6 separate regions of the Homo sapiens genome follow, and all the other regions are linked to region 1. The links are contacts of gene promoters, found by promoter capture Hi-C in blood cells and fetal thymus (Javierre and others, 2016). All regions are on one chromosome and are shown on one strand. Each heading gives the region's core, a stretch centred on a gene start or on the middle of the fragment in contact. The rest is flanking DNA. Distances are from core to core; before and after follow the strand shown.

What was found. The method cuts DNA at HindIII sites, captures the fragments that hold promoters and counts their contacts. A CHiCAGO score of 5 or more calls a contact.
Region 2: a fragment that was not itself captured here is called in contact with the fragment with the promoter of SUCO in region 1 in 2 of 17 cell types (fetal thymus and total CD8 T cells); the score reaches 6.9 in fetal thymus.
Region 3: a fragment that was not itself captured here is called in contact with the fragment with the promoter of SUCO in region 1 in 2 of 17 cell types (total B cells and total CD4 T cells); the score reaches 6.7 in total B cells.
Region 4: a fragment that was not itself captured here is called in contact with the fragment with the promoter of SUCO in region 1 in 1 of 17 cell types (monocytes); the score reaches 5.3 in monocytes.
Region 5: a contact is called between a fragment that was not itself captured here and the fragment with the promoter of SUCO in region 1, in 1 of 17 cell types (neutrophils). The highest score is 6.1, in neutrophils.
Region 6: a contact is called between a fragment that was not itself captured here and the fragment with the promoter of SUCO in region 1, in 1 of 17 cell types (neutrophils). The highest score is 5.6, in neutrophils.

What each region holds. Positions count from the first base shown.
Region 1 is chr1:172,531,261-172,534,866 of GRCh38, reverse strand. SUCO (SUN domain containing ossification factor) reads right to left here and starts at 1,717. Exons shown (of 24, transcript NM_014283.5): 1 at 1,370-1,717. The coding sequence starts at 1,431. RefSeq lists enhancers at 1,329-1,488, 2,099-2,348, 2,409-2,518 and a silencer at 1,609-1,778. The HindIII fragment of the contact is 4,223 bases long and covers 604-3,606 here.
Region 2 is chr1:174,161,938-174,165,543 of GRCh38, reverse strand. All of the region lies in intron 1 of RABGAP1L (RAB GTPase activating protein 1 like), which reads right to left. Among named protein-coding and RNA genes, the nearest start is that of RABGAP1L, 4.2 kb to the right of the region's middle. The HindIII fragment of the contact is 151 bases long and covers 1,652-1,802 here.
Region 3 is chr1:174,016,387-174,019,992 of GRCh38, reverse strand. The region is part of intron 1 of RC3H1 (ring finger and CCCH-type domains 1); the gene reads left to right. Among named protein-coding and RNA genes, the nearest start is that of RC3H1, 4.2 kb to the left of the region's middle. The HindIII fragment of the contact is 2,618 bases long and covers 463-3,080 here.
Region 4 is chr1:173,998,348-174,001,953 of GRCh38, reverse strand. The region is part of intron 1 of RC3H1 (ring finger and CCCH-type domains 1); the gene reads left to right. Among named protein-coding and RNA genes, the nearest start is that of RC3H1, 22 kb to the left of the region's middle. The HindIII fragment of the contact is 4,144 bases long and covers 1-3,606 here.
Region 5 is chr1:171,476,522-171,480,127 of GRCh38, reverse strand. No RefSeq gene overlaps it. Among named protein-coding and RNA genes, the nearest start is that of PRRC2C, 7.2 kb to the left of the region's middle. The HindIII fragment of the contact is 3,263 bases long and covers 3-3,265 here.
Region 6 is chr1:171,495,366-171,498,971 of GRCh38, reverse strand. The region is part of intron 1 of PRRC2C (proline rich coiled-coil 2C); the gene reads right to left. Among named protein-coding and RNA genes, the nearest start is that of PRRC2C, 12 kb to the right of the region's middle. The HindIII fragment of the contact is 4,223 bases long and covers 1-3,606 here.

The DNA.
Region 1 (3,606 bases), core at 468-2,967:
TTTAAAGATGGGCAAGACCAAGAAGAAAGAGGAAAGAAAATACACAGTCTACAAATATAACTAGGCAGCCCCAGAAAGAGATGGAAATGAATACAAGCTTCAGTATCTACAAATTTAAATTTAAAATGAGGTGAGTGGATTTATCTCTTACAGGCACTTCTCCGTACCCAACACAGTAAGTAGAAAGGGGAGGATTTTATTAAAAACAGGAGACGGGTATTAAAAGGATTCAGAATGAAAGGTAATAAGTCAATTGTTTTTGTTCTCAAAAACTTCTATCATTCTTCCAATAAAAATCCCTCAGCCAGGCGAGTGTTTTCTCTTCCCCTTGTTTATGTATTATTTTATGTGAGCAACAACTCTACAATTTCAGTGCTTCTGGAATCCATAAGGCATCCATAAAAATGAAAATAGTGTTGGTGCTTTGCAGAAATAAGCAAAACAGGAAACTTAATTTCTATTTTAATATAACAAACAGCAAATCGCCTAGACTGAAGAAGCATCTTTTCAGTCATCAATTGTCACACATCTTTGAAGAAATTCCCTGGGAGGAAAGAATGGCTTTTCCAAGTACGGTGACAGCAGTCCCTCGACTTACAAGCTTTCTCTGCTCCTCAAAAAACTCCAGAAGTGCCTGGGATTAACAGAAACTCCGTAAAACTTAAGGAGTGCTTTAGGGACAAAGCACTCTTCCCGCCTTGAAAATACAGCATTTACCTTCCCGTCACTAAGGGGCATTACCAAAAACTACTACACACACTACATCTAAGACACCCTCTCCACCAAACCAATTGAAAAAGTGCTTCATAACACACATACACACACGCCCCCCAAGTTTCCAAAAACAGCGGCCCGAGTGTACTTGGGATCAAACGCTGTGCGAGAAATGTCCAGGAGAACTACTGCTTATACATTACTCTTACCTTCATGACCACTCACGTTTTAAAATCGCACGTCCGGAACGCATCACATCCGACGTGCTTTATCCCCTTACCACACTAAGAACGCAAAGACTGGCGGCAAATCGGAGCAACTTACTTACCATCAATCTGAACACCCACCCCAAACCCTGCACCGTCTCCAAGGGGTAGAGGAACTGAGTACAAAGGCACTTGGTGGTTCCCTCTACCTTGGCACCTCTCTCTCTCCCACTGAGTCTCTGTAAATTCCAAAATACACCATGAAAATCTCCGCACAGAGCACTACCAGACCAGTCAGATGGAGAGTCGAGAAGTAATCGGTTTGTCCCTTCCACGGGGGCCTTGGAAACCCGGACCCTAAAAGCCAAAATGACCAGGGGGTGTGACCTGGGCTGCTCCCTCCCATTTACTCCCCTCACGGGAACTCCCTTGTCGTCGCGGCTACTCACCAGACCAGAGAGCACAGAAAGAGGCAGGAGACCAGGGCCAAGGCCCGCCGGTGCTTCTTCATCTTCTCCTCCTTCTTCCCCCTGCCAGAAGGCGGCACATCCTCCCGGCAGCCGCCACTGCCGAGGCCAAGATGGAGGAGCCGGAGCAGGAGCGCGAGAATGTGACCGATAGTCCTAAGGGCTATGGCGCTGGCTGAGCGGCTCCTCAGTGGCTCGCGTCCTGGCAGCCCTCTCTGAGGGCCCCACAGAGGCGCGGACAGGGGCGCTTCACAGGACTCCGGGGACCGCCGCCGCTGCAGCCACCGGCTCGTCCACGCCCGCCTCCTGCAGCCGCCACTGCCGCCCCATATCCTCCCCGCCCGCCGGGGGCCTTGCTCCGTGAGGCCAGCGACCAACGGCCGCCGCGTACTCGCCTCTCAACAGCCAATCGCCGGCGGGGCCGCGACACCTCACACACCGCTGAGCTGGAAAGGGACGCGTCACCCAAGTCCCGCGGCGCCCGCACCCCCACCAGCCTCTGCGCAGGCCACGCCCCCTTCGACGTCGCAGGCGGAGAAGCCGGAGGCAGGAGACCACAAAGCGCAGGAGCAGATGCTCTCGCCGCTCCGCCCGCCCCAGGTCCCGCCCACTTGCTGGCTTGCGTTCAGAAAGCCGGGAGGAGCCCAGTGATCCTCAGCATTTCCCCTTACAGTGGACCGCCCTTCGTCCCTCGCGCGCTGAGTCCGCGCAAGGGCCTTTGGGAGTTGTAGTTTGCCTTCCAGAATTCGTTTTTCTCTTTCCCAGTCCCTCCTAGAATCCATGGTTTTGTTAGAGAAGTCTATAGTTTCGCTGCTCACCACGAGACTGATCAGCTTTGGAACTGTTGCACTGTTTTCCTCTTTTGAGCACAGTTCGTGGAATGGCCTAGAATGACGTGTGTGTTGTGAGGGAAGCTGCACCAAGCCCTTTCCCTGTGGCAATGGACTGCCCCATTGAGCTAGATGTTGATTGGTAGATAGAAAGGGGCGTGCCAAGAATCCTCTCATCTGATTGGTTGCAGCGGAAAACCTTTCGCTTTTTCTTCTCTTCAGCAAGAATTTCGCCGCTTGCCGGGTTCCTCACTTTAAGTGTGCTTCGTTGCTTTTCGTTCTGTTGGTTTCGAACTTTGGGTTCTCTGCGATGGAGTCGGAAGGGAGGAGTTGTCCCCATTAGAGGAGCACCCACAGACGCTCCAAGTCCTGGGGTTCACCTAAAGTGGGGAAGGCAGTCGCTTACACTCACCTAAGAAGAGCAAAAAGTGACCACTTCTCAATACTAAGTAACGGGGCAGCATGCCCATTCCAAGTGTTTACGCCGCTGAGGGGACGGAGGCTGCAATGGTCTGTGCCTTGGAACATGGCATAATGTTTAGTGTGAAAAATGTTTAAAGGACGGGTTACTTATTGTTCATGTGGCCGTAGGGAAAAAACCCTCAGTAAAATGCCCACCTAACGCCTAATTTTGAGCCGCGGAATTTCCTTATGAACCTTCTAAGTTGAATTGGATGTTAATTATAGTCCCAAAGAACTGAATGATTTGATCCGCTCTGTGATTCTTGGATATAAGTCAATTTGATGTTAGAGAAATTATACAAAGGGTGATAATTTTTGTTTTAAAGGAGTTCACCCTGAACTGCCTTTTCTGGCAGTAATTAGGTACAGTTCCACTTATCTGCTGATGCCACTCTTAGTATATGACAATAAAATCCTTTCATCTGTCACCTATTGCGGGAAGCAAGTATTTATCTCACCCAAAAACAGTATCAAATGATTAATATGCAAGTTTAAAAGAAAGTAGGGGCAATGAAAGGGTAGGGATAAATTGACATTCTTTACCATGTTGGACACTCTTTTCCTCTTACTCCAGGAACTTTTATTCAGGATAGGAAACAGCTGAGGTATCCCTCAGCTGATCCTCAGTGCATCACAGCCAAAGAAGTTATATTAGAATACGTGCTTATCTCAAATCTAGGAAGTTATCAAGTTACATCTCCTAACCCTCTCATCCCAAACTCACAAACCCATCCACTTATTTTCCACCAAGTCCCTGCAATGATTTTTTGAAACATGCAAGTACAAATAATTTTACTTTTTTCTTTCTCTTTCATTCCTTCCTTGACTGCCTGCCTGCCTTCCTCCCTTCCTTCCTTCCTTCTCCTGCAGTTGGAGCTTTATTAATACCCCCGTGGTAGGCTTTCCATTCACCTAATTATCATCCAA
Region 2 (3,606 bases), core at 478-2,977, 1.6 Mb before region 1:
TGAGTAACGGGAGTGAGATGCTGTCTCCAAATTAAAAAAAAAAAAAAAAGTAGTTCAAATGTCACCTCTTCTTTTATCCTTAAAACTAAAAGTAGACCGGGCACGGTGGCTCACGCCTGTAATCCCAGCACTTTGGGAGGCTGAGGCGGATGGATCACCTGAGGTCAGAAGTTCAAAACCAGCCGGGCCAACATGGCGAAACCCCGTCTGTACTAAAAATACAAAAATTAGCCTGGTGTGGCAGTTGGCGCCTGTAATCCCAGCTACTCAGGGAGGCTGACGCAGGAGAATCACTTGAACCTGGGAGGCAGAGGTTGCAGTGAGCCGAGATTGTACCACTGTACTCCAGCCTGGGTCAAAAACGAAAAACAAACAAACAAACAAAAATAAAAGTAATCTCTCCCTCCTCTCTAAACTCTTATAGTTCCTTATCTTTATCTTTTTACCACCCATTACTTTCTGCCTTTCATTATCACTGTTGTTTCCATATTTAATCCCCCACCTAAGCATAAAGTCCTCAGGGTCAAGGTCCATCTTTATTCAAACTGATTAACACAATCCCTTATACACACTAAGTGAGGTTAGGAAAGAAGCCCACCAGAAACAACTCCAGATTGAGTCCAGAGCCCTGGCTTTGCTAATAACTCACTATCTGACCTTGGCCTTGAGGCTCTTAGTATGTTCCTTCACTTACAAAGTTAAGAGGGTAGGCTAAACTAGTTGTATTTGTTGTTAAATGTAGGCTATAATCCATTAGCTGGGTGTAAAATTAATTTGGAAGTCAAAACCCAGCATTTTTAAAATGAAATGAAATAACAGAATATATCAATGTGTGTTATAAGCAGTGGGGTGCTATAAATGTTTAACAACTACCTATGAGGAGGGAAGCCCTAAGAATACCATTTGCTGAATTTCCTGGTGTAAATATTCCCACCATGACCAATTTTGAGCTACCAACATGATGTCACTGGACAAAGAGCTAGATAGGAAGAAATATGCACAACTGGTCTTGCAAGCCATTATAGCTAACTCAGTAGGGCCCTGAAAAGATAAATATTATTTCACCAAACTTTCAACTTTGTGTGTGTGTGCGCTTGCGGAATCAAGTAGTAAAATGTATTTTTTATTGTGGGTCACAGTCAAATGAGTTTAATAAATGTTCAGGTAAACAATCTCCTGGTGTCCTTCATGTATACTACATAATTTGATAAATCTTACTCTTGGTTACAGATGTCTCTTCACCACAATTCATATTTTTCTTCAAAAATGGGAGTAACAAACTGATATCACCAGAAGGCAAATTACACAGAGCAGGAATTTGGTTTATGGAATATCAGCCAAGTGCCAAGGTTTTTAGCATTTGTTCAGCCCTACATACCTGAAGGATATAACACACTCCTACTATCAATGGCTCACTTAGCAATGGGTTGGGGGGCAGGTAGGGGGTAAGAGGAGGAAATCCATAGTATAAAAAAAAAATCCAGATAATTCTAGTATTTGTGCTCATGTTCCCACCCCACTGAATACCCAGATACACAGAAAATTAGAGCAGTAAAAAGTAAATGTTCCATGCCTGATGTTTCCCAATCAAATTCCCTTGCATCCCTCAATGAGACTTCCATTACTAAGAATCACCTACTGGAACTAAGCTTTTACCATGGACTAGGGATGCATAGTTCTTGCTGAATTTAGAACAGGCAACAGGGAAAATAACACAGCAAACAGTTGTTAGGCTTCATATTCTGGGAAAATCAGCCTTTTATTAAAAAAAAAAACTGTCTTATTTTCCTCTTATTTAAGCTTACTAAACTGGGTGAGAATTTTCTTAAATATATTTTTGGCTGTACTATGTCTATCACAACACAGCCTGTAACCAGATTTTTCATGAGTATTTATAAAGAATTGTGTTGTTGTTGGGTTTTTTTTTTTTTTAAGCCCAACAGCACTGGCAAATGTTTTCTACTTTAAAAGCTATTTAGAAAATAAGAAGGCTCAGAATTTCAAGTATACTAATAATCTTAGCCCAAATCTAACTCTAAATCAACTGAATATATGCCTAGAACTTTCCCAGGAAAATCCCCAAAAAGTACACCAAAAAACACCAAAAGATAACAAAAAAGAGTTAGCATGCGCATAAACTTCGTATACCCAATTATGCCATCCCATCTGTTGAATAAGAGCAATATGGGAAGTAAACGAAGTATAAAAAGAAGATGTTCAGAGATGCAAGCTCTTCTTAATTCATTAACTCTTCCTTATTAGGGTCCACTGATGTTCACATACTTATACCCAATTCAAATACTGACTATAAAGTCAAAATTATTTCCCGTTCTGAAAGTCTAGGAGTCAAACAATGTCTTTCTCTATAATATCAGCATTAAAACTCTCCTTTAAAAATGAGTATGTTTTACCATAACTCAGGCTCAAGTCCGTACTTTCTCCGCCTCCACTGTTTGTAATGGCAAAATGCTCATCAGATCATCTCCACAAGAAACCCCTGAGCCATCTTTGAAATACCAGCACCTGGTGCGCTGCACCCACTAACTCATCATCTAGCATTAGGTATATCTCCCAATGCTATCCCTCCCCCCTCCCCCCTCCCCACCACAGTCCCCAGAGTGTGATATTCCCCTTCCTGTGTCCATGTGATCTCATTGTTCAATTCCCAGCATGGCACATGTATACATATGTAACTAACCTGCACAATGTGCACATGTACCCTAAAACTTAAAGTATAATTAAAAAAAAAAAAAAAAAAAAAAAAAACAGAAAGAGAAAAAAAAAAAAAAAGAAATACCAGCACCTGGAATAGCCTTGGGCTGCTGGTCATCCTCAGACTCAACGGCTGACCCATTTATATAAGTCAAGAGTTATAAAAATATAGAACTCATTAAAATTAAGACATAAGCAAGCTCTGTGCCTGGGAATCCCATAGGCTTACAGCAACAACTTCATTCTCCAAACCCCCTCTAACCAGTCATAATGATCCATACCCCACTTGAAGACAATGGTAGGTTGGAATGCAGGCCCACTTCTACACCTTCAATATAGGAAATTTTTGCTACTTAGCCACTACTCTCTTCAAAGTCAATCTCTTGAAGCCTAGCTATCTCCCACACATATTTTTACTTGGCACAACAGAATTCCTTCTTTTGATTACTCCAAAAGCATGGATAAAAGGACTTTCTGCTTCAATGCTGTATCATCTGAGAGTTCAAATAAATATACAATGGCTGAGCAAATTCAAGTTTGGGTTAAGGCAAAGAAAAAAATTCAAGTTTTTTAAAAGTCACAAATTTAGAACTGGAGAGCTGATCACATGAAAACTCCTGTTTCACATGCCTAATAAAATTCTTTCATTCAAAGGAAAAAAAAATCATAACTACCAGCGTAAAAAGAAAACATCTAAATCATGAAACAATTATCAAAGAAACAAAAATTCTCAGAACATCGCAACTGTAATATATAGAAATTCCCATCAAATAACTCAGGTGAAAAAAAAAAAAAATGGGACAAGCACCGTTGGCTCAGGCCTGTAATCCCAGCACTTCGAGAGGCTGAGGCGCAAGGACTGCCTGAGGCCAGGAGTTGGAGACTAGCCTGAGC
Region 3 (3,606 bases), core at 522-3,021, 1.5 Mb before region 1:
TATGAAAACAATCTCACCGTGTTATGTCAAGGGCAGATTTACCTCATATTTAATATCATTTTCCTGAAAATAAATATTTTTAAGTGGTAAGGTTTTGTATTTCAGATTGGTTATTGACCCAGCAATTTATGGGCTTAGTCTGGGTCCGTATTTCTGTTCAATAGGAAAAAAATTTAGGGAATTGTTTTTATTTATTTTGTGTCAAAACAGTTTTAAGTTTTGACACAAACTCAACTGTCCCTTCTTCAGTATCAATACTTATTACTTAAGTTCACATTTTCTCAGGTAATAAAAATTTACTTCTAAGAAGTTTTGGAACCAGAGCTTAAGAATTAGATTTATATTTTCTTGGTAATATTAAAAGTTAATATATGCTTGATTTATTTGAAGAAATAAAAAAGGGTAATTTGTACACAACGCCTTTCAGAACATATTTGTTGAATGAATAAAAATATTTAAGCTTCCTCATTATGCTGCAGTATTAGTTCTGTTGTCCTCATTTTTTCATATGAAGAATGTGAAGCTAAGAGTAGCTATGTAACCAGCAAAAAGATCACATAATTAATAGGTAAAAGAGCTTACTCAGACTCAGATCTTGTGACACAAATTAGATTCTTTGCCACTACCACATGTGTCACAGTTAAACTTTGAAGCATCTTCTGTGTTGACAGATTCCTTTTTTTGCCTGTGAACTTACCCTATTATCATTATTTGTATCCTGTCAGATATCTACTTGTAAGACCAAGAAAGTATTTGTTCATGTGAATCACAAAAGAAACACTTAAATTTTTGTTTTTAGCATATCTGAATGCTATAAAATATAAAAACTCATACTGTTTACATAGGACAGATTTATCATACTGCTGTAATTGTTTTCATGGTTAATTTGTTACATAGGCAATTACTAAATTGTGCCTTTGAAATACTTTATAAATTTTTTTAAATAATTAAAGATATTCAATGATGTTAAAGTTGGGTCAGCTAATATTTGAAGTTCTTAATTTATAATTTTTTTTCTTTAAGCCATAGATAATTTAGAATTCTGCAGTATTTTTCATCTCCAGATCTTAGGGCTTGAAATGGATTCTGATGGGTCTAATCAGTCCACTCTTGCATATATCTTGAAAATGGTCAGCATCCAACAAAGTGAAGAATAAACTGATAAATGATCCCTGTTTGGTGAACACCTCAGATCAGGATGTTCCTTGGCAGGGTATTCTGACCTGGTTTAGCTTTGGCCCCGTCTGTGCTCAGGGTTCAGGTATTCTGCAGGATTGGGTTCAGAGGGATTAAAATTCTCAGATTGGCCTGTATCAAAACAGTCACAGATTTTGGTCAGCCTTTTCCCAGAACCGTCTCCAAGATTTTTTCTTTTGTGTAATTCTGGAATCTAGGCTGGATTTGGACTAGCTTTAGAGGTTATGATAAAAGATTAATTTTGTCAGGCATTTATACAAAGGAGGTTTTCTTACTACAGAGTTTCTTAAGGTAGATTCCTTCTATTTTTGAAGTGTGACATTTACCAATCTGAAGTAATGTTGCCCTACATCCCCCAGACACTTAACTTTAGCATATTTATTTCTGTCCATTTTTGGTCAGGATTGTGCCTGTTTACTTATATAATATTCTTGTTTACTTTTTGTTTATTAGATACTTCTTATTAGTTTATATTGTTTTCCTGATTGAGGCTTGGGGAAAGAATTTTCCTCAAATTTAAAGTCACCTTACTTATTTGCAGATGTATGTCAGAGCAATATTCTTTTGACAGTTATCAAGCATTTTAGCAATGCTGTATGTATATATTATGAATGAATGACAGAGTCACTCATGGTCTGTCACCCAGGCTGGAGTGCAGTGGCATTATCATAGCTCACTTCAGCCTCAAACTCCTTGGTTTAAGTGTTATTCCCGCCTTACCTGGCTACTTTTTTTAATTTTTATTATTTTTATAGAGATAGCATTTTGCTGTGTTGCCCAGGGTGGTCTCAAACTCCTGGGAGCAAGGTGATCCTCCCACTTCTGCCTCCCAAAGTGCTGAGATTACAGGCATAACAATGTTTTAAACTGACACTGGTATACCTTCACTGATTATTACTGTGCACATGTGGTAATAATTTAACTTATAAGTGCATTTTATCTAAAAAATTTCCAAGATCTAAATAGCATTTGAACATGGTAGCAGTTTTTTTTTTTTTTTTTTTTTTTTTTTGAGCAAGAAAAGAGTTCTAAAGGGGTCAGTTTTATCTACAGATTAACATAATTTTTTTTATTGAGGTTAAGTCACATAACATTAACCATTTTAAAGTAAACAGTTTAGGTGGCACTTTATACATTCACAATGTTGTTCAACCACCAGCTCTAATTCCAGAATGTGTTCATTACCCCAAAAGGAAACACTGTACCCATTAAGCAGTTACTCTGTATTCCCCTCTTCCCTAATCCCTAGCAAACGCCATTCTGCTTTCTGTCTCTAATTTGAGCCAACATCGAGGAAGAGTACTCTGTACAATTGAAATTGCAGAAAAAACTTTGGGATGTGATTGTTAGGAATAAAAAACCACCTAATTCTTTGCATGCTTCTCTAAGTACAGTAGACATGCTGCCAGGGACTCTTTATGGAAGAAAAGTTGAGACTCATAGAAGTTTGCAGTTTTGTTTTGATCACCCCAGAGGGTTTTGCTCAAACTCTTAGACTCATTTGTATTTCTTCATTGGGTTATAAGAACTAAAATTTAATGTTCTATACAAATGTGAACAACTAATACTTGGTCTCCTATCTAGAACTTGTTTGCCTTTTAGGTTTTCTTAATGTATAGAAGAAACTAGGAATATTCACAAAGGATTTATTTGAAGTTACACTGGGAAACGATTTTTAGAATTTGAAGCTCTTTGATCCCTGTGAATCTAACTTTATGACTATTTTATTCAGCTAATCTTTGAGAATATTTAGAGTTTTGATTTGCGTGGCACTCTGCTTTTAATCCCTTGTTGAATAAGTGTTAGAAACCTTGATCTTGGCCCTATACCTGATCACCTCTAAAAACATGAACAGTGTTACAAAGGCAGTTGTTTAGTAAGCTTTTTTGGATTGTTTTAATTGGCTGACTGAGGGAGACAAAATTAGTTTTTTTTTTTCTTTCTAGAATAAAGGGTAATAAACTTGGACTTTAGAGTTACTGCTAAGATTGACATTTCCATTTGGGGCTTTAGAAATATATTGTTATCTTAAATTCAAAATGGTACTTTATCTAATTGAATTGAAATCTTAAAATTTATGAGAAACAAAAGTCACTTTATGTTCTTAGTAAATATTTCTAATGGGGTTATAGGAGATCTAAGTACAAAAAAAATTTAAAATTTTGTTATTAATCTCCCCTCCTTAAGGAAAATTTTATTAATATACATAATTATAATTTAGTTATAAGAACAACTTAAGTTGAGTACAGTGGCTCAAGCCTGTAATCCTAGCACTTTAGGAGGCCAAGGCAGGAGGATCTCATGAAGCCAGGAGTTCCAGACCAGCCTGGGCAATAGAGTGAAACCCCACCTCAAAAAAAAAAAAAAAAAAAAGGAAACTTAAAAAATGATAAGGAAAAGGATTATGTC
Region 4 (3,606 bases), core at 675-3,174, 1.5 Mb before region 1:
CAATGTATACTAAAAATACTCCTGATCTTAGTAACCAGTTTTTATTACATCCTTAGTGTTTGTACTAACACTAAATTGGTGATTATAAATTTATTTACTTGATAGTATAGTATATGTAATATTCAACAGAGTGTTAATGCAAAAACTGAAAAAATTAAAACATTTTGCTTTTTTGCTTAATCGGTAAATTTTCCTTTCTACTACCTTTAAAGATGGTGCTTTTGGCTGGGCGTGGTGGCTCATGCCTATATAATCCCTGCACTTTGGGAGGCTGAGGCTGATCACTTGAGACCAGGAGTTTGAGACCTGGCCTACGTGGTGAAACCCCATCTCTACTAAAAATGCAAAAATTAGCCAGGCATGGTGTTGCACATCTGTAATCCCAGCTACTCTGCATGAGAATGGCTTGAACCTAGGAGGTGGAGGTTGCAGTGAGCCAAAATCGTGCCACTGTACTCCAGCCTGGGCAACAGAATGAGAATCTGTGTCAAAAACACAAAAACAAAAAAAGATGATGCCTTTGAGTCTGGTCACATCATTCTGCCACCTCTTTGATAATTAATGAGGGCTAATGCCCTCTTTAGTGTAGCACATTTGTATATAATGCATAACTTGAACCTGGAGATTCAAACTACATACGTAAAGTTAAAGACTGTCTTACTTTCTCAGGCACTCTGTTTCAAACTCAGGTCAGGCGGCTTCTCCATGAATGATTTTGTCCTTTCTTACTACTTCTCCTCAATCTGGTATTAGGTTGGAGATAGAAATTTTTCTTTTTGCCTCTGAACGCTGAAAAAGTAAGCAACCTGAATTAACCCCTTGAACTTTCCTCCACCTTTCTTTATCAAGTTCTATTTTTCAAGCTATTTTTTCCCTCTAACTCAGAAGCCCTTCTCTTTATGCCTGTCCCAAGTATTTATCCATTTGTACTAACATAATCATATTAAATTATTTACATCCAGGATTTTGTATATATAGGGTTACAATTCAGTCCATACATTTTGGGAAGATGTATTTTTACAATCAAAACTGGGTCTTTGTTCACAAGATATTATTGCTGGAAAAACCTTGAGCCTCAAATTTTAGACTCTATTTCCACTGTAAATTAGTTGATGCTCTGCTGAGGATTAAAAAATTAAGTGTTATAATAGGCCTTCATTAGTTTTCTTCTTTGTGTTTTTATCTCCTGCTTCTAGCTTCATTTTTCAAGGCAGTGAAACATTTTCTCTTCTCTGATGTGGCCCTACATGCTGGTTGCTATGGAAATGTTCCAGAGAAATGAAAAATTAAGTTAAGGTCAAGAATAATGAGTTAAAATCTCATCTCATCGGGCATAGTGGGAAGAGAGCCAAGATTTTCTTCTTACAGACAGTGTGGTTTTGTTTGATAAAAACATTTTTCACAGGCCAACTTATATTTCAGATATGTAAGACCTGGTGTTAATCCCAGCTCAACAGTTTATTGATTTGGGGCCGTTACTTAATGCCGCCAAACCTCAAGTTATCTTCTGTAAAATGGGCATAGTAATGCCTCAGAGGAGTGCCTGGCTCAGAGTAGATAGTTGAATTTTAATTTCCATTTTTCTCTCTCTAAATCAGGAACATATAAAATGAACCTATAATAAAGGAGATGGTAATAAATGTGTCATATGTTTAAATGAAATCTTCACAGCAATGTAATTTAGCTATTTAATAGGGCTATTGCTGTGCTCATAGAACAGATTCGAATAGTTTCTATGTTTCTACATTATTACTTAACATTTTTGAAAACTAAGACTATTAAAAAGCCCTTAATGACTATTTTAACAGCTTTATTGAAGTATAATTTACATACCATAGAATTCACTTATTTTAAATACACAAATGATTTTTAGTAAATTTACAGAGTTGTGCAACCATTACTACCATACAATTTTAAGGCATTTCTGTCACTCCCAAGAGCTCCCTTGCCATAATTACTATAAACTTTTATTCGTGTGGTGGCACAAATTATAGAGTTTCAAAGTACCAGCCTGGGAGTTTGGCTGTCCTGAGTTTGAGTCTTAGTCGTGCCACTTTCTAGCTTTGTGACTTGGGTACTTTGGTTTCCTTATCTTTAAAATGGGCATAATAACTACATTACAGTGTTACTGTGAACATTAATTAGATACTGTATATAGAGCACTGAAAGTATAATATCCTAGTTTTTGCTTCACAAATGTTGGTTATTGGTGGTAGTCCACATTGTGGATATTTAAATAAGAGAAACATCTGAAAACACCTAGCACAGTGACTGACACATGATTGATTTTCAGAAAACAAAGCTGTTCTACGTCTTTCCAGATGCATCATGTCATCACAATTTTGTCTGTAGTTGCTCATTGACAATGTTTTAATCATACTTAAACATCGATGCTCACAATATGTAGTTATTTGTTATTTTGCAGAGGCATACATTTGAATTTAACAGCTAAGGGAGCTGTAAGACTTGGAGTTTGGTATCTACAAACTAGTTACTTAGCTGGTGGACCCAAGCAAGTAGCCTTGTTGTTTATAATTCATATCTTTCTTTCTCTCTCTCTCTTTTTTTTTTTTTTGGTGGAGTTTTGCTCTCATTGCCCAGGCTGGAGTGCAATGGCACGATCTCGGCTCACCGCAACCTCTGCCTCCCAGGTTCAAGTGATTCTCCTGCCTTGGCCTCGCGAGTAGCTGGGATTACAGGCATGTGCCTGCTAATTTTTGTATTTTTAGTAGAGACAGGGTTTCTCTATGTTGGTCAAGCTGGTCTCAAACTCCTGACCTCAGGTGATCTGCCAACCTCAGCCTCCCAAAGTCCTGGGATTACAGGTGTGAGCCACCACGCCCAACAGTTTTTTTTTTTAGAGATGGGGTTTCTCTGTGTTGCCCAGGCTGCAGTGCAGTGGTGTGGTCATAGCTCACTGAAACCTTGAACTCCTGGGATCAAGCATACCTCCCACCTCAGCCTCCTGAGTAGCTGGGACTACAAGTACGTGCCACCACACTCTGCTCATTTTTTATTTTGCTTATAGAGACAAGGTCTTGCCTTTTTGGCCAGGTTGATCTCAAACTCCTGGTCTCAAGTGATCCTCCCACCTCAGCCACCCAAAAGTGCTGAGATTGCAGGCGTGAACCACAGCACCTAGCTGAAATAATTTTTTTATTTTGATAATAAGATCTTTATTTCTTTGTTAAGAAAAAAAACCTGAGTAAAGTCAAATGGTAATATTAGTGATAAAAGTTTAGAGATTTAAGAAAGTGGTGGTTCTTAACCAGAATTTAGACATTGGGATAAATTAATAGTGAAATGTCAGATGTGATATTCTGTACTGTAGCTTCAGTCAATGCCATGAACAAGGCATATAACTGAATAAAGCAGTCTTTTCAGTGTTTTCTGTGAGCACTCTTTAGTGGTGTAAAAATGTGTATATATAATTGGGGAAATTATATGGTATTTTTGAACTTGGGTCTTAGGTCAGACCCTTGAACTGATTGCTATTTAATTATCATGTATATTCTGTATTAGCAATTATCAACAGTAAAATCTCGTCATTTTTGTAGGAGAGGTGTCCTTATTTAAACTGGTGGGGAAACTAATCATTGCTTTCAT
Region 5 (3,606 bases), core at 385-2,884, 1.1 Mb after region 1:
CTTAAAAAAGGAAAATAGCCAGGTGGTAACTGAAGATACAGAAAATTGTAATTTCTTAAATTTTTAGGCCAAAAAGCAGATCCGTGAGATATTACTAATGAATATGAATACAGTGCCCAATAAATTAAAATTGTAACTCTGGCTGTCGCTTGTAGCATTTCTTAAAGTATACGAGACTTTTTATGTATCTGCTGCCCAACCAATTGGGTATATGTATAAATAAAACTATCTGATGTCAAATATTTTATTGCTTCATAGTAATTAAGAGAAGTAAGATTGATAGTACTTTTTTTGGTTACCATTGGGACTAGGTATTTTGAATAATTTTTAGGCTTGTGGTGGAAGAGAGAATTTCATATGTTACAATGCCACCAGTAGCTTGTACCTAGTTTGGTTTTTTGGTTTGTTTCTCTTTCTCTTCTCTATTTTTTTTTTTTTTTGAGATGGACCCTCGCTCTGTCACCCAGACTGGAGTGCAGTGGCGCAATCTCGGCTCACTGCAAGCTCCACCTCCTGGGTTCACGCCATTCTCCTGCCTCAGCCTCCAGAGTAGCTGGGACTACAGGCTCTTCTCTATTCTTTTTTCTGCTGGGGTTAATTAAATGATTGTTTCAGAAATATTTCTATGAGCTGCTGAGAGTCTTAGTGAATAATTGCTTCAAATGGGAATTAGTGCAATTCTCTAGAGGTTGGACCATTGTTAACTTCATAGGGCATGGTCTTGATAGAAGAGAGAAAGGGGAATAGTGATTGAAAGAGAATTGAGAGAAAGCATCTCAAAGTATTTAGCAGCCTTGGGGAATTGCAGTGAAATGAAACTCTTCATTTCAATATTCCATAAAAAACAAAAGAACAATATTCCATATTACCTATGTATTAGCCAGGTGTGTGCCTATAATCTCAGCTACTTGAGAGGCTGAGGCTGGAGGATCTCTTGACCCCAGGCGTTTGAGGCTGCAGTGAGCTATGATCTTGCCACTGCTTTCCAGCCTGGAAAACAGAGCAAAACTCTGTCAAAAAAAAAAAAAAAAAAAAAAAAAAAAGTCATGATATATCAGGCTAAGGAAGACATAAAAATGAATAAAACAGTTTAAATTCCTGTTCTCAGGAGATTCTATTCAAGTGGGATGAGAGTGGGGTGAAATTATAAGTAATTATGATTAAAAGTGACATATTAGTCAGGGTCCTTCAGAGAAACAGAACCAATAGGATACGTAGACCAACAGGCTGGAGACCCAGGGAAGAGACAAAGTTGTAGTTTAAGTCAAAAGGCTGCCACACTTAAGAATTCCTTTGGGGGAGATCAGTCTTTTTTCCATTAGGCCTTCACTTGATTGTATGAGGCCCACTCACATTATGAAGGTCAAAATACATCCATTTACAGTTAATATAATCACCCCCCCACCCCCTCCCACAAAACAAAAACACTTTTATAGGCCGGATGAAGCAGCTCATGCCTGTAATCCCAGCACTTTGGAAGGCCAAGGCAGGTGGATCACTTGAGGTTAGGAGTTTGAGACCACACTGGCCAACATGGTGAAACCTCAGCTCTACTAAAAATACAAAACTTAGCCAGGTGTGATGGCGCATGCCTGTAATCCCACCTACTTGGGAGGCTGACGCAGGAGAATTGATCGAACCTGGGAGGTGGTGGTTGCAGTGAGCCGAGATTGGGCCACCACACTCTACCCTGGGCAACAAAGCGAGACTCTGTCTCAAAAAACAAATAAACAAACAAACAAAAAACACCTCTTTTATAGAAACATTCAGGATAATGTTTGACCAAATATTGACATAGTAGCCCAGCCAAGTTGACACAGAAAAATAACCATCACAGGTGATAAATTCTCTGATGAGAGAATTAAAAGTGCCTTGTGAGTCCAAAGGAAGGCACCTAACCCACATTTGCAGGGATGGTGGGGGTCAGGGAATGTAGCCATAATAGATCTATTGCAAGTCAATATGCAGGGTTGCAGCAGAGAAAGATTTAATCATTGGGCCATGAGGAGTTTAGGGCTTGGGTTTTTAAGGGTTTCAGAGTGGGCAGAAGTGTAGAGATAGTTGATTGGTTGAAGAGTGCAGAGTAAAGTCATGGGGCAGGAGATGAAGAAACCATATTCTCATGCTGACTAGGCTGCTCTGTGGAGATCTTTAAACTAGTTGGTGTCAGCTGTTCTGTCTGGAATTCAGGATCTGTTTAAGCAGTTTTTTTTTGTTTGTTTTTTGAGACAGAGTCTCGCTCTTGTCACCCAGGCTGGAGTGTAATGGTGAGATCCCAGCTCACTGCAACCTCTGCCTCCTGGGTTCAAGTGATTCTTGTGCCTCTGCCTCCCAAGTAGCTGGGATTACAGATGCCCACCACCACACCTGGCTAATTTTCGTATTTTTAGCAGAGACAGGGTTTCACCATGTTGGCCAGGCTAGTCTTGAACTCCTGAACTTAGGTGATCTGCCCACCTTAGCCTCCCAAAGTGCTGGGATTACAGGCATGAGCAGCCGTGCCCGACTTTAAGCGGTTCTTAAAAGCCTAATGATTTTAATGTTAGAAATCCTATCTATAGGGAAAATCAAGACGCAAATGGTCAGTATCTACTGTTATGCGACTTTCACTTACAAGGAAGTGGGTCATAGCGCAGCCTGATTAATGCTTATAACTACATTTCTGCCCAGAATTAAGCCCCAACAGTTTATAGGAATTAGATACTCATGTGAATATATGTTATGAGTGAGGGTGTGTGTCTGTATGTGTGTGTGTGCAGATATGACAGGAAGTGATGGGGCAAGTTTTGGGGAAAGGGAGGCAGTTAACTTGCATATAGTGAAGGGTGAAGAATGTTTCAGGCAGAGAGACCAGCGTATGGAAAGATCCCAAAAGCCAAATGGAGCATGGCATGTTTGAGGATTTTAAAAAGCATCTTGATAGCTCTGTTGTTCATAAAGTAAAAGGGAAGAGGTGGAGGGGGGAGAAAGGTGAAAAAAGGGGCAAAAAAGCAAAACTTCAGAGATGATCAGAGACCAGATTGCAAAAAGTCATGTAAACTGACTTTGTATGACTGAGGGCAATAGGAGCCAATGATTAGATTTAAACTGGGATATTACGTAATCTAGATAAAATGTGTAAGTTTTATGATATCACATAGGAAAGACAGCTTAATATATTTTATTCCTTAGTGACTTTTTCTTTCAACAAGTATTAATTGAGTATAAACTATGTACCAGTGATTGTGCTAGCTGCTGGAGCTGTAAATGGTTAATGTCTGAAGCTTTTCTTTAGCTGAAATGTGAAGAATGGTTTGCCTGGCACAAGAGCAGCTGTTTCAGGGGCTGTAATGATAATCCAAGGAGTAGTGAGAGGAGGCTTGAATCCTGCAGTAGGGGTTGAGAGAAGTAGGCAGGGCTGGATTGTTTCCTCAGATTGTTTTTACTTCCACAGAAACTCCATCATTATTCTCTTAAGAAACTAGGGAGTTACTCTTGCAATGGTGTGATTTCAGAAGGCAAGCATTCTAAAACCCATTTGTGACCATTAAATGCAGAATGTATTTATTTTGCCACCCAGGCTAGAGTGCAGAGGCTGATCACAGCTCACTGCAGCTTCAACTGCCA
Region 6 (3,606 bases), core at 719-3,218, 1.0 Mb after region 1:
GCCAGGTATGGTAGAGTATGTTTATAGTCCCCGTCCCAGCTACTCAGGAGGCTGAGGTGGAAGGGCCATTTGAACCCAGGAGTTCCAGGCTGCAGTGAGCGATGATCGCAACTGCTGGGCAACAAAGCAAGACCCAGTCTCCCCTCCAAAAACAAAAAAAAGAAAGCCCAGTAGAAGCTGGAGAGCAAGGGTATACAGAATTTCCAAGTTTGTGCAGTTACGATTCTCTTCAATGTCCAGTAGGACATCCAGGGAGTTGGGAGTGGTAGGAAGCACAAAAGCAGATGGACTGAATCAGAGATTAGAGTTGCACCAGTAATCAGTAAACTAGTAAAGAAAAGCAAGGTGGATGAAGATACTGCCAGAATTTCTGGAGTAATGTTTTACTGAAGTCTAATCCAGACAGTGAAAGAAAATGGTTTGAATGCCTATGTTTCTTCCAAATTTCATGCTGAAACTTAACCCCCAATGCAACACTTTTAAGAGGTGGGGTCTTTAGGAGGTGATTGGGCCATGTGGGCTCTGCCCTCACAGATGTGATGTGTGCCTTATGAAAGGGCTGGAGGGAACTAGCTATGCACTTCTGTCATCTGAGGACATGAACAAGGTGCCATCTTGGAGGCGGAGATCCTGCCTGTCGATAACTTGATCTTGGACTTTCCAGCCTTCAGTACCAACAGAAATTAATTTCTGTTATTTATAAGTTACCCAGTCTCAGGCATTTTGTTACAGCAGCATGAATGGACTAAGAGAGGAAGTCAGAAGAGAATGAGGAGGAGAGCAGAAAGGACTGGTGATTTCAGTTAAGGTTGACTAAAAGCTCTAGCAATAAAATAGTAATTATTGGCAGGGCATAGTGGCTCATGCCTGTAATTCCAGGAATTTCGGAAGCCGAGGCGGAAGGATGGCTTGAGCTCAGGAGTTCAAGACCAGCCTGGGCAACACAGCAAGACTTTGTCTTTTCTTAAAAAAAAAAAAAAAAAAAAAAAATTAGCTGGGTATGGTGGCTCATGCCTGTAGTCCCAGCTACTTGGCAGGCCAAGATGGGAGGCTCACTGGAGCCTAGGAGGTTGAGGCTACAGTGAGCCATGATTGTGCCACTGCACTCCAGCCTGGGGGACAAAAGGAGACCTTGTATCCCCCCACTGCCCCACCAAAATCTGAGCTCCAAAGATATAGTATAACGTAAAAATACCCGATTAGGGCCACGCGCAGTGGCTTACACCTGTAATACCAGCACTTTGAAAGGCGAAGGTGGGAGGACCACTTGAGCCCAGGAGTTCAAGACCAATCTGGGTAACATGGTGAGACCTCATCTCTACAAAAAATAAAATTTAGCCAGGCCTGGTGGCACATGCCTGTCTCCCAGATGCTCAGGAGACTGAGACAGAAGGATCGCTTGAGCCTAGGAGGTTGAGGCTACAGTGAGCCATGACTGTGCCACTGTATTACAGCCTCGGCAATAGACAGAGTAAGACCCTGTCTCAAAATAAATAAATAAAAATAAAAATAAAAACCAGATTAGGACTAAGAAGGGCTTAAAGCCTAAATCACTGAAAATTACCAATGAAGAAGCAATCTTAGAGAAGTAAAGTAATTTGCTCAAAACACACAGAGCTGGAAAGTGGTAGAGTCAAGATTAAATCCAGGCTGACTTCAAAGCCAGTGCCCAACATAATCTCATTATTTAAAAAATCAGGATTGAACTTTCATTTTGAGAAATTAACAAACTGAAATATAAAACAATAAATGTCACTTAAGAGACCCTAAATGATTCATGTTTTCATTATCAAACATACTGCATTACAATATAGAATAAGATATCAAAGATAAAACACAATAGCAACAAAACATAGCAACATCTCTATTAACAAATGTATTGGTGGGGCATGGTGGCTCATGCTTGTAATCCCAGCACTCTGGGAGGCAGAGGTGGGAGGATAGCTTGAGCAATGGAGTTTGAGACCAGCCTGAGCAACATGGAGAGACCTTGTCTCTACCAAAAAAATAGCCAGGTGTGGTGGCACATGCGTGTGGTCCCAACCAGGAGATTGAAGCAGGAGGATCGCTTGAGCCTGGGAGGTTGAGGCTACAGTGAGCCAATGATTGCACCACTGCACTCTAGCCTGGGTAACAGAGTGAGACCTTGTCAAAACAAAACACACACACACACACACACACACACACACACACACACGCCCCAAATGTATCGATTTGCTGCTAGAAATGTCATTTTGTAATACAAGTAAGGAATAAGAGCTTGTGAAATAAATTTAAAGTTTCTGGTGATGACAGGGTTTAGACAGCAGCCATTAAAAACCAAGCACAGAGTGCATGTGTGTGCCTATGTGCATACTATACAGAAAATAATAAAGTAAATATGGTAAAATATTAACAAGTGGGGAATCTGAATGAAGGAATATGGTAATTCTTTGTATTATTTTTGTAACTTGTAAAAAACAAGAATCAGGCCAGGCGCAGTGGCTCACATCTGTAATCCTAGCACTCTGGGAGGCCAAGGCAGGTGGATCACTTGAGGTCAGGACTTCCAGACCAGCCTGGCCAACATGGCAAAATACCATCTCTACTAAAAATACAAAAATTAGCTGGGTGTGGTGGCGTGCACCTGTAGTCTCAGCTACTAGGGAGGCTGAGGCAAGAGAATCGCTTGCACCCGGGAGGCAGAGGCTGTAGTGAGCCAAGATAGCACCACTGTACTCCAGCCAGGGCAACAGGGGGAGACCCTGCAAAAAAAAAAAAAAAAAAAAAAAAGGCACAAAAATCAAAGCTCTAAAAATCGTAAAGGGGGCAGGGGTGCTGATGGACTGATGGGTGCCCCCCTGACATTCATATGTTGAATCCCTAAATCCCCTGGGCTGATATTTGGAGATGGGGCCTTGGTGAGGTAATTAGATTTAGATGAGGTTGTACGGGCCATGAGGGGATTAGTGTCCTTATAAAAAGAGATACCAGAGCTTGCTCTCTTCTCCATTAGAGAATACAGTCAGAAGGTGGCTGTGTGCAAGCTAGGAAGAGCCCTCACCAGAACTACTATGCTGGCACCCTGATCTCAGACTTCCAGCCTCCAAAACTGTCAGAAATAAATTTCTGTTTTTTAAGCCATCCAGTCTATACTATTTTGTTATGGCAGCCTGAACTATGATGAGGGGAGACTGATGCATTAACTTCAAAAACCAGAATTTTATCACTCAAATTTTAACTAAATTGCCCATTTAAAATAAAAAAGCCCAAATATTCACCACACTCCTAGTTCCAAGTGAATCAGCATCCACAAAATATAAACCTTAAAAAAATTTAGTCACTTCCTTCCCTCAATCCACTTGATTTTTTAAGACTACTGAAAGTACTAGTCATTTACATACTTCTCCTTAAATAAACTTAATACAAATGAGAATCACACAATGTTTGAAGTAGAAAATCATTTTATATTTAAAAGAATGTGGTCAATATGAAATAATTTGGCCTGGATATGTTGGACCCTGTCCTTTTCCATGTCAATAACTTGAATAAAGACTTGGAAAGTAAACATGGCATATGAAATAATATATACATCTGAAGGAGTACCAATGTATTCCATGACCAAGA